2 separate regions of the Homo sapiens genome follow, and region 1 is linked to region 2. The links are contacts of gene promoters, found by promoter capture Hi-C in blood cells and fetal thymus (Javierre and others, 2016). All regions are on one chromosome and are shown on one strand. Each heading gives the region's core, a stretch centred on a gene start or on the middle of the fragment in contact. The rest is flanking DNA. Distances are from core to core; before and after follow the strand shown. Region 1 overlaps ADAMTSL4-AS1 (ADAMTSL4 antisense RNA 1). Region 2 holds the start of ANXA9 (annexin A9).

Region 1 (4,751 bases), core at 448-2,947, 410 kb after region 2:
CACCTCTGCCTCCCAGAGTGCCAGGATTACAGGCGTGAGCCATCGCACCCAGCCTCTGTCTTGATTTTTTTGAATCACCAGGTGTTGGTATGTTTTGTTTTGTTTTGTTTTGAGGCACAGTCTCACTCTTTTGCCCAGGCTAGAGTGCAGTGGGGCAATCTCGGCTCACTGCAACCTCAGCCTCCCGAGTAGCTGGGATTACAGGTGCCCGCCACCATGCCCGGCTAATTTTTCTATTTTTGGTAGAGACGGGGTTTTGCCGTGTTGGTCAGGCTGGTCTTGAAGTCCTGACCTCAGTGATCCACTCGCCTCAGCCGAAGTGCTGCGATTACAGACCTGAGCCACTGCGCCCAGCCTTGATCTTGAGGTAAGAGGGTACTGTACAGCAGTTACTCTATCATAACACCTAAATAATACCTAAAGTTAAAGAGTTTTGATGAAGTTCTTGGCAGCAGTGCTTTTCCCCTTCTGCTTTCCAAAAGGAGGTAAAAAGAAGCCAGTCAATTTCAAAAACCCCTATCCTGCTTTTATTTTCAGCTACCTTGAAAGTGAGCTGAATCACCATGGAAATGTGCAAATGTGAGGTTTGCATACTTGGTTTTAAGCCCTGAGCACCATATGCTAATCAGGCAATCAGGATTCTGTGCCTCCCTGCAGTCAGTTGCATTTCTATTTAAAAGTGCATTTTGGTTTGGAAGCCCCTTTCTGGAGCCTAACTACCAAAAGGCAGCAACTTTTTGTATCATTACAAAGAAAGCTGTGTAAGTGCACTCCCAAGCAAAGGTGTGGTAGGAGAGTAGCAGCCACAGAGGACCCAAGCCCAAGTCTTGGCCTGAGTTAAGTTAGTGCTATTGCTCCCATTGACGTGCTATGATGTGAAGCCGTTTCTGGTACAGTGTTCCTTTGCTCAGCACCTTAAAAGCTTGGATTTAATAGTAACTGGGTAACCTTAATCAGTAGTCAGAATTATCAACACTTTGCTTTATTTGACACAACCAGACTTTCTCAGTTCCTGTTCTGTATCTAGAGCAACGTCTTCATACTGTTTTTTCACAAAATTTTTATTTAAAACAGTTGTGACAGCCGAAGGATTTTTTTTTTTTTTTTTACAAAATTAAAATGAAATAACTTGTACAACTGGTGCGTACCATGGCTCCAGCCAGATGCCCAAAGCACTGGCTATTAATTCCTGGAGTTCAGATGGTCAGTTGAGTCTATCCTAGTTTTTTGCTTCACTTGTTCAATCATGGAACTTTCTAGAACGCTGCCACTCTTCAAAGGCTTCTCAATTTCAAATTTGAAAACTTAATTCTCTCCCTCTTAGTTTCAAAGTTGTTACAGTGTTATCTATGTGAAGTATGTGGAAAGTTGGGGGCTGGGGATTTTCCTCCAGGCAGATTAAGAAACAGCTCTCCGGGTCGGGCGCTGTGGCTCAGGCCTGTAATCCCAGCACTTTGGGAGGCTGAGGCAGGAGAATCGCTCGAACCCGGGAGGCGGAGGTTGCAGTGAGCTGAGATCATGCCATTGCACTCCGGGGCCTGGGCGACAGAGCCAGACGCTGTCTCAAAAAAAAAAAAAAAAAAAAGGCACGGTGACTCACACCTGTAATCCCAGCACTTTGGGAGGCCAAGGTGGAGGGATCATGAGGTCAGGAGTTTGAGGCCAGTCTGGCCAATACAGTGAAACCCCATCTCTACTAAAAATAAAAAAAATTAACTGGGCATGGTGGCGGGCGCCTGTAATCCCAGCTACTTGGGAGGCTGAGGCAGGAGAACCACGTGAACCTGGGAGGAACCCCGGAGGTGGAGGTTGCAGTGAGCCGAGATCGTGCCACTGCACTTAAGCCCAGGTGACAGTGTGAGACTCTGTCTCAAACAAAATAAATACCTCTCTAGTGAGGTGGCTCACGCCTGTAATCCCAGCACTTTGGGAGGCCAAGGCGGGCTGATCACTTGAGGACAGAAGTTTGAGACCAGCCTGGCCAACACGGTTAAACGCCACTACTGGTGGCGGGCACTAGTAGTCCCAGCTATTCAGGAGGCTGAGGCAGGAGAATTGCTTGAACCCAGGAGGTGGAGGTTGCAGTGAGCCAAGATCATGCCACTGCACTCCAGTCTGGGTGACAGAGCGAGACTTCCTCTCAAAAAAAAAAAAAAAAAGGCCAGGGGCGGTGGCTTATGCCTGTAATCCCAGCACTTTGGGAGCCCAAGGCGGGCAGATCACCCGAAGTCAGGAATTTGAGACCAGCTTGGCCAACATGGTGAAACCCCGTCTCTACTAAAAATACAAAAATTAGCTGGGTATGGGGTCACGCGCCTGTAGTCCCAGATTGCAGTGAGCCAAAATCACACCACTGCACTCCAGCCTGGCGACAGAGCGAGACTCCATCTCAAAAAAAAACACCTCCGAAAATTTGGTGTCCTTTACTAATAATTCTTGGGAAGTAGAAAAAGGATATACGTAGCAAGCTTTTGTTCCCACACTATACTTGGTTTCTAATTTGCAGTTCCCTTCTTGACCTGCATAGAATAATAGTTATTTTCCATTGGGAAATGAGAAATCTTCAACATTGAGGTAAGTTAGGATTTTTTTTTTTTTAAGAGGTGGGGTCTCACTCTATTGCCCAGGCTGCAGTGCAGTGGGACTATCACGGTTCACTGCAACCTTGAACTCCTGTGCTCAAGCAATACTCCCACCTCAACCTCCAAAGTAGCTGGTACTACAGGTACCTCACCATGCCTTGTGTTTTGTTTTGTTTTGTTCATAGAGATGGGGTCTTGCTATATTGCCCAGGCTTGTCTATTTAGCAGGAGCTCTAGGCAGCCAGATGTTGAGAGTGTCTTCATTTTTCCATTACATGACAGTAGACTGCTTATTATGTATCATGAACTGTTAGATAATGGAATTATAAAGAGATCATTCTTCCCCTTAAGAAACTCAAAAAAAGAGGCCGGGTGCGGTGGCTCACGCCTGTAATCCCAGCACTTTGGGAGGCCAAGGCGGGCGGATCACAATGTCAGGAGTTCAAGGCCCGCCTGGCCAATATGGTGAAGCTCCGTCTCTAGTAAAAATATAAAAATTAGCCAGGTGTGGTGGTGGACTCCTGTAGTCCCAGCTACTTGGGAGGCTGAGGCAGAAGAATTGCTTAAACCCGGGAGGCCGAGGTTGCAGTGAGCTGAGATTGGGCCCCTGCACTCCAGCCTGGGAGACAGAGCAAGACTCTGTCTCAAAAAAAAAGAAAAAAAAAAGAAACTCAAAAAAAGATTGGGGAATAGTTCAAAAGAAACATGACAACTAACTACACATGTCAAAAAGCTATAAAGGACATGGGGACATTTGCGGAAATTTATGGATTGTATGTTACTACTGTATCGATGTTAAATTTCTTGAGTATTATACCTTGTTTTTAGGAGATGCATGCTAAAGAATTTATGCATAACGAATCCCATAATGAGAATGCAAATGTGGCTAGATGTTAAAGTTTGTGATCTAGCTGGGTGCAGTGGCTCATGCCTGTAATCCCAGCACTTTGGGAGGCTAAGGCAGGCAGATTGCTTAAACCCAGGAGTTTGAGACCAGCCCAGGCAATATGGTGAAACTCCATCTCTATAAAACATAAAAAAAATTAGCTTGGCATAGTAGCACGTGCCTGTGGTCCCAGCCACTGGGGAGGCTGAGGTGGGAGAAACGCTTGAGCTTACGAAGTCGAGGTTGCAGTGAGCTGAAATTGTGCCACTGCACTCCAGCCCAGGCAACAGAGTGAGACCCTATCTTAACAAAAAAAGAAACACACACACACACAAAGTTTACAATCTAGTAAGAGTCATAGACATGGACAGAAATAATTAGAAGGCACTGTACAAAGCATTGTAGGGTTGGGAAAAAGCAGGGTGACAACTTCTAGACGTAGAGGGTGGTAAAGAAGGCTTCATAAGAAATGTGAGGTTGGACCTTAAAACATGAGTAACGAGGCTGGGCACGGTGGCTCATACCTGTAATCCCAGCACTTGGAGAGGCTGAGGTGGGTAGATCACCCGAGGTCACCAGTGTGGCCAACATGGTAAAACCCCATCTCTACTAAAAACACAAAAATTTGATGAGCGTGATGGTGCACACCTGTAATCCTAGCTTCTTGGGGGGCTGAGGCCGGAGAATCACTTGAGCCCGGGAGGTGGAGGCTGCAGTGATCCGAGATCATGCCACTGCACTCCAGCCTGGGCAACAGAACGAGACTCAAAAAAAAAGATGAGTAAGAAACACGTACCAAAGCATGGAATTGGGAAAGACCCTCTGGGTGTATGGAGATGGGAGAAGCAGGGATGGACTGTGTAGGTAATTTTCTTATTCCATCTTCCTTCCCTGCCTTCTTTCTCTGCTCGCCGCTCTTGGTCAGTGAATACTGTATGACTTCAGTTTTTCCCATCTCAGGCCTTATATAAAAATATTAGAGCCAGGCGTGGCGGCTCATGCCTGTAATCCCAGCACTTTGGGAGGCCGAGGCAAGCAGATCACCTGAGGTCAGGAGTTCGAGGATAGCCTGGCCAACATGGCGAAACCCCATCTCTACTAAAAATACAAAAAAATTAGCTGGGCGTGGTGGCTTATTCCTGTAGTCCCAGCTACTCGGGAGGCTGAGGCACCAGAATCACTTGAACCCGGGAGGCAGAGGCTGCAGTGAGTCATGATCACGCCACTGCACTCCAGCCTGGGTGACAGAGCGAGACTCCATCTCAAAAAAAAAAAAAAAAAAA
Region 2 (4,393 bases), core at 1,842-4,341:
TCCTCAGGCTGCAGCATGGCTGGGTTCAGCTTGGAATGTGGTGTGATGGCAGGGATGGCAAGGGGCTGGGAAGGTGACATGAGTACCTTTGGGACTGTCACTTTGGAATCTGCCTTGGAGCTCCAGATTAAGATGGTTAATCATTGCTTCTCTCTCTTTATTTGTGTGTGTGTGTGTGTGTGTGTGTGTGTGAGAGAGAGAGAGAGAGAGAGAGACATGCTCTCACTCCTGTCACCCAGGCTGGTGTGCAGTGGCAGTGGCACGATCTCAGCTCACTGCAGCCTCAACTTCCCAAGCTGGGGTGATCCTCCCACCTCAAACTCCTGAGTAGCTGGGACCACAGGCGCACACCACCATGACCAGCTGGTTTTTTTGAATTTTTAGCACAGATGAGGTTTTCCTTTATTGCCTGTGACTGGTCTTGAACTCCTGGGCTCAAGTGACCTGCCCACCTCAGCCTCCCAAAGTGTTGGGGTGACAGGCATGAGTCACCGTACCTGGCCTGCTTCTCTTTTTTTAATGATCACATCTGGGTCTCTCCCCTGAGAGACTGAGGCACTGGTGGGGGCAAGAGGAAAGACCCCAAGGGAATAGAACTTAGGCAGCCAGGTTGCCAGATAGCTCACCTATGGGGAGTACAGGAGAGGAGTGGCCTGTCCTACAGCCCCTTCTCCAGCATCTGGGACCCCTCCCTCTATATTCTTACTGTGTTTGTAGACTGCCAGGCACTCCTGCAGCTGGGGTGGGGTTCGAGTGGCAAGAATTTCAATGGCCACGTCCACAGCAGAATCTGAGGCCTACAAGAAATTGGGAGTCTACTCTCAGACTGGCCGTGTCATTAGGATGGCAGACAGAGGGGCAGACGCTGGCTGCTTCTCCTTCTAAGAAACAATATGGGACGACGAGAGGGGGACTCTCGTCTTGCAAAAGCAAGGCTGACAGCCTTCTCCCTTCCCCAGACACCCCAGCAAGTCTCCCCTCCTGCTACCTTCAGAGCTGTCCTCAATTCCTGGGCGTCAAACTGGGCTGTGGGCTGCAGCAGAGCCATCACAATCCTCTCCAGGTTGCCGGAAAGTGCTGCCTGTAGAGACTTCATCAGGTCCTACAATAAATGGTCCTCACAGCAGAGGGACGGGGGTGAGGGGAAGGGCCCCAGAAGTGTGGGGAGGTTTGGGAAGATTTGGCTGGTTTTCATCTCAGGCCCTGTTTAGCCAGGAAGCAGGGGCTGGCCTCAGCGGCTGTTGCTGTCTCTCGAGTCCTCCAGGGGGTTTCTCACCCCAGTCCACTGCTGTGGGAGGTCAGCATGGCCTCACCTGTTGGGTGCGCTCCTGGAAGTTTCGTGAGATGAGCTGCCTTTGCTCTCTGCTCCGGTTGGTCAGCACGTCCACAATGGCACTGCGGTCCACGCCTGAACCGAGATGAGGGCTGTGCTGTGAGCAGGGTCTTTACATAGTGGGATGTTCCTACTCCTTGGAGGAGGGAAGGCGCTCCAGGAGAGGGCTGGGAAGGAAAGGAGCAGGGGCTATATCACCCCCACTTCCATTTTATCTCAAAAGAAGTTGCAAATAAAATGTCAAAACAGCATGCAAATCTGACCCAGACCAAGGCAAAGGTGGCCTGGTGTGGTGGTTAAAAAAAAATACGACTTGGGGGGATCGGCTGACCTAGATGAGAATACCACCTCCGTCATGAGCTGAGTGACCTTGGGCAAGCCTCTTAATCTCCCTGAGCCCCAGTTTCCTCATCTGGAAAATGGAAATAATAAGCCTTGCCTCACAGGGGTGTTGTGAGAATGGGTTTGACACACCTACTGTGGCGCCTGACATACAAGAATGAAGGCATTCCACAAACATTTCTCCAACATCACTAGTTCCTCCTTCCTGGCTCCTCCTTGGTCTACAGATTGGCTCTAAAAGGCAGTCTCAAGTGCCGGGGGAAAGGGGCTCACCTTGGCCAGTAATGGCCCTCAGTAGCCTCTGCGCATCCTTGTCCACGCTGAAGTTCAAGAAGGTCCTGAGGGTGCCCAGGGTCCCCCACGCTGCAGTCTGTGGGAGCACAGGGTAGTTGGCAAGGGCCAGGGCCAGGCTGCCTACACCTCCTCAGCATAACCTCAGGGCCTGTCCTCCACTTTCCTGCCTCCCATCCTCTCACAGCCCGAGCTGAGATACTAAAAGTGATCTCTAAAATCCCAACAGCCCCTACCTTGCTGGCCAGGCCCAGGTGGCTGAGGATCTCCTGGGTGAGGGACGGTGCCATCTTCCCGCCAGTCACAGACATGGTGCTACTGGTTGCCCTGGGGAAGGAAACAGGAGCCCACAGAGCTGAATTTCCTGGCCCTTCAGGGACTCCTTATGACCCCCCCGAGACCCTGGACCCTGGGTTCCAGTCACCTGTTCCTTTCCTTGCTGCAGAAAAAAAGATCAACCTGCTTAGGCTTGGAGCCAGAAATGGAGCTGAAATGGTGAGGTAAGAGGGGAGCCCCCACCTTCCCCACCTCTCCCCACTCCTTTAGGAAGTGGGGATTGATGCGGAATGCTCCTGGACCAGGCGCCAACCCTCCCTGATGCCAGGGTCAGCACCAAAGCTCCTCAGGCCTTGGTCCGCGGTAGATGCCTCCCTTCTGAGGTCTATGGCCCTCCTTCCTGGGCCTGGCTGGGGTCTCCTGGGCAGTGCAGGGGAGCTGAGGTGAGGTGGCAGGATTAACCACGCAGAGTGGAAGACAACTCGAAATAGCATCTTCCCCCACCGGCAGCCCCAGCTGACAAGCAACCCTCAATTCCTGCCTGTACAGCTGCCTACCTGCTCAGCAGCACAGGAGCACAGGCCGGAATCTCTAGGTCAGCAGGTGCAATCTCTTAGCTGATGTGAGCAAGAGTTCTTGCAAGTACGTGGATGCCTGGACAGAAAGGAGGCACTCTCATGTTGGAAAAGGAAAACTCATTTTTCCCTCCCCCAAGCAATCAACAAGCCCTCCTGGCATGGGGCCGTGGGCCCAGTACTTACTCAGAGGTGCCAGAGGTGAGGTGGGTGTCGTTGTTGTGGCCTGGTAGCTTGCCTGTGTGAGCACTGCCTCCGGTGTGGCCTGGTAGAGGAAAGTGGGGGTGTGTGCAGCCTAGGCTGAACAGCCAGTCAGATGACCTCTCTTAGGGACGAACCCAGCAGTTGTCTGACTCTGGCCCCTCCCAGACGTGGGAGAGGACCGGGCTGTACAGAGTCCCACATGCAGACACCTTCCTGCCCAGCATCTCTTCTCCCAGGAACTGGGCCTCAATCCATGTGAGTGAACTCCACTCAGCCTCTCAGCGGCTCAGCCTCAAACACAGGAGGCTTTTATGCACTGCCTTCCCTGTGGGTCCAGGTGGGACCACAGAGACCTAGTCTCAAAGTCCAGCTTCTGACCTGGCTCTGCCCCAGCTTCTGACCTGGCTCTGCCTCTGGCTCCAGCTCCCTGGGGGGCAGGTCAGACAGGCTGCAGGCTGATTTCAAGGCTGATAGGGAAAAACCTGTTGGGGCACATACCAGCAGGGCACCCCAGCCTGCACCCCAGAGGGGGTCCCAGCCCAGAAACTCCCTTGACTGCTGCCTTACTAGAGCCAGCTGACCTAGGTGGAGAGTGCCCAGGGATTGTGTATATCTGTGGAGAAGGAAGGGCACAAGTATTTGGGAGTGGAAGTTGATGAACAGAGTCAAGAGAGAAAAATGCAAAGGGTGTTACCTTCAGAGGGAAGCTCTATGCTCCCAAAAGGCAACAGGGAGATGGGGGAGGCTCCCTTGCCTGGTTTCTTAGATTGCTTCTGTTGCCTTTTGGCAGCCTGGGCCCTGTGGCTGTTTTAGCTGCAGGTGATGCAACCCCAGCAGCTGGACTTGAGGCTGTCTCTGCACAGAGCAGCAGGTGAACAGCCCTGTGGAGCCCCCGCCCCGCCATGCAGCAACTGCTCCAGCCTCACAGCTGGCTCCCTCAGGTCTAAACACAGCCTCTTTCCTGCCTCCCTGGAGAGCCTGGGTAGGGGCGGGGCACAGAAGCTACAGCCCTGCCTCCACTCACTCCTCTGCCTCTCTCCCAACTCAGGAAGGCCTTCACTGGCATTCCTACATCCCTGGAGGAGGGACCTGCAGTGGCTCCACCACACTGAGTAGACCATGCCGGAGGACACGCCATGAAAGGATATTTCTGTGGCGGTAATCACTGCTCCTCACTTTTCTCTCCTGTTAAAAGGAAAACATGCACCTGTGTCAGAACTGGAGAATGAGGGTTCAATATCCAGCTCTGCCACCTATGTTCTGTAAGCTTCGCTAGTCCTTTCAGCTCTCTAAATGGGAGGATTGAGAGAGACGGAGGCTGTGGGACATGCTGGGGCCTCCGAGGACAGGTTTCCTGGGATGATTAAATGAA

What was found. Contacts are between HindIII fragments. The CHiCAGO score rates a contact against its expected background, and 5 or more counts as called.
Region 1: a fragment that was not itself captured here is called in contact with the fragment with the promoter of ANXA9 in region 2 in 1 of 17 cell types (neutrophils); the score reaches 5.7 in neutrophils.

Annotation. Positions count from the first base shown.
Region 1 is chr1:150,569,275-150,574,025 of GRCh38, reverse strand. It overlaps ADAMTSL4-AS1 (ADAMTSL4 antisense RNA 1), which reads left to right. Exons shown (of 4, transcript NR_104133.1): 2 at 205-367. Among named protein-coding and RNA genes, the nearest start is that of ADAMTSL4-AS1, 2.9 kb to the left of the region's middle. The HindIII fragment of the contact is 1,546 bases long and covers 925-2,470 here.
Region 2 is chr1:150,980,990-150,985,382 of GRCh38, reverse strand. It overlaps ANXA9 (annexin A9), which reads right to left and starts at 3,091. Exons shown (of 14, transcript NM_003568.3): 1 at 3,004-3,091; 2 at 2,800-2,896; 3 at 2,203-2,293; 4 at 1,949-2,045; 5 at 1,314-1,408; 6 at 989-1,102; 7 at 707-797. The coding sequence starts at 2,277. It overlaps LOC105371438 (a long non-coding RNA gene), which reads left to right and starts at 3,878. Exons shown (of 3, transcript XR_922135.3): 1 at 3,878-3,962; 2 at 4,070-4,179. RefSeq lists an enhancer at 1,706-2,567. The HindIII fragment of the contact is 18,662 bases long and covers 1-4,290 here.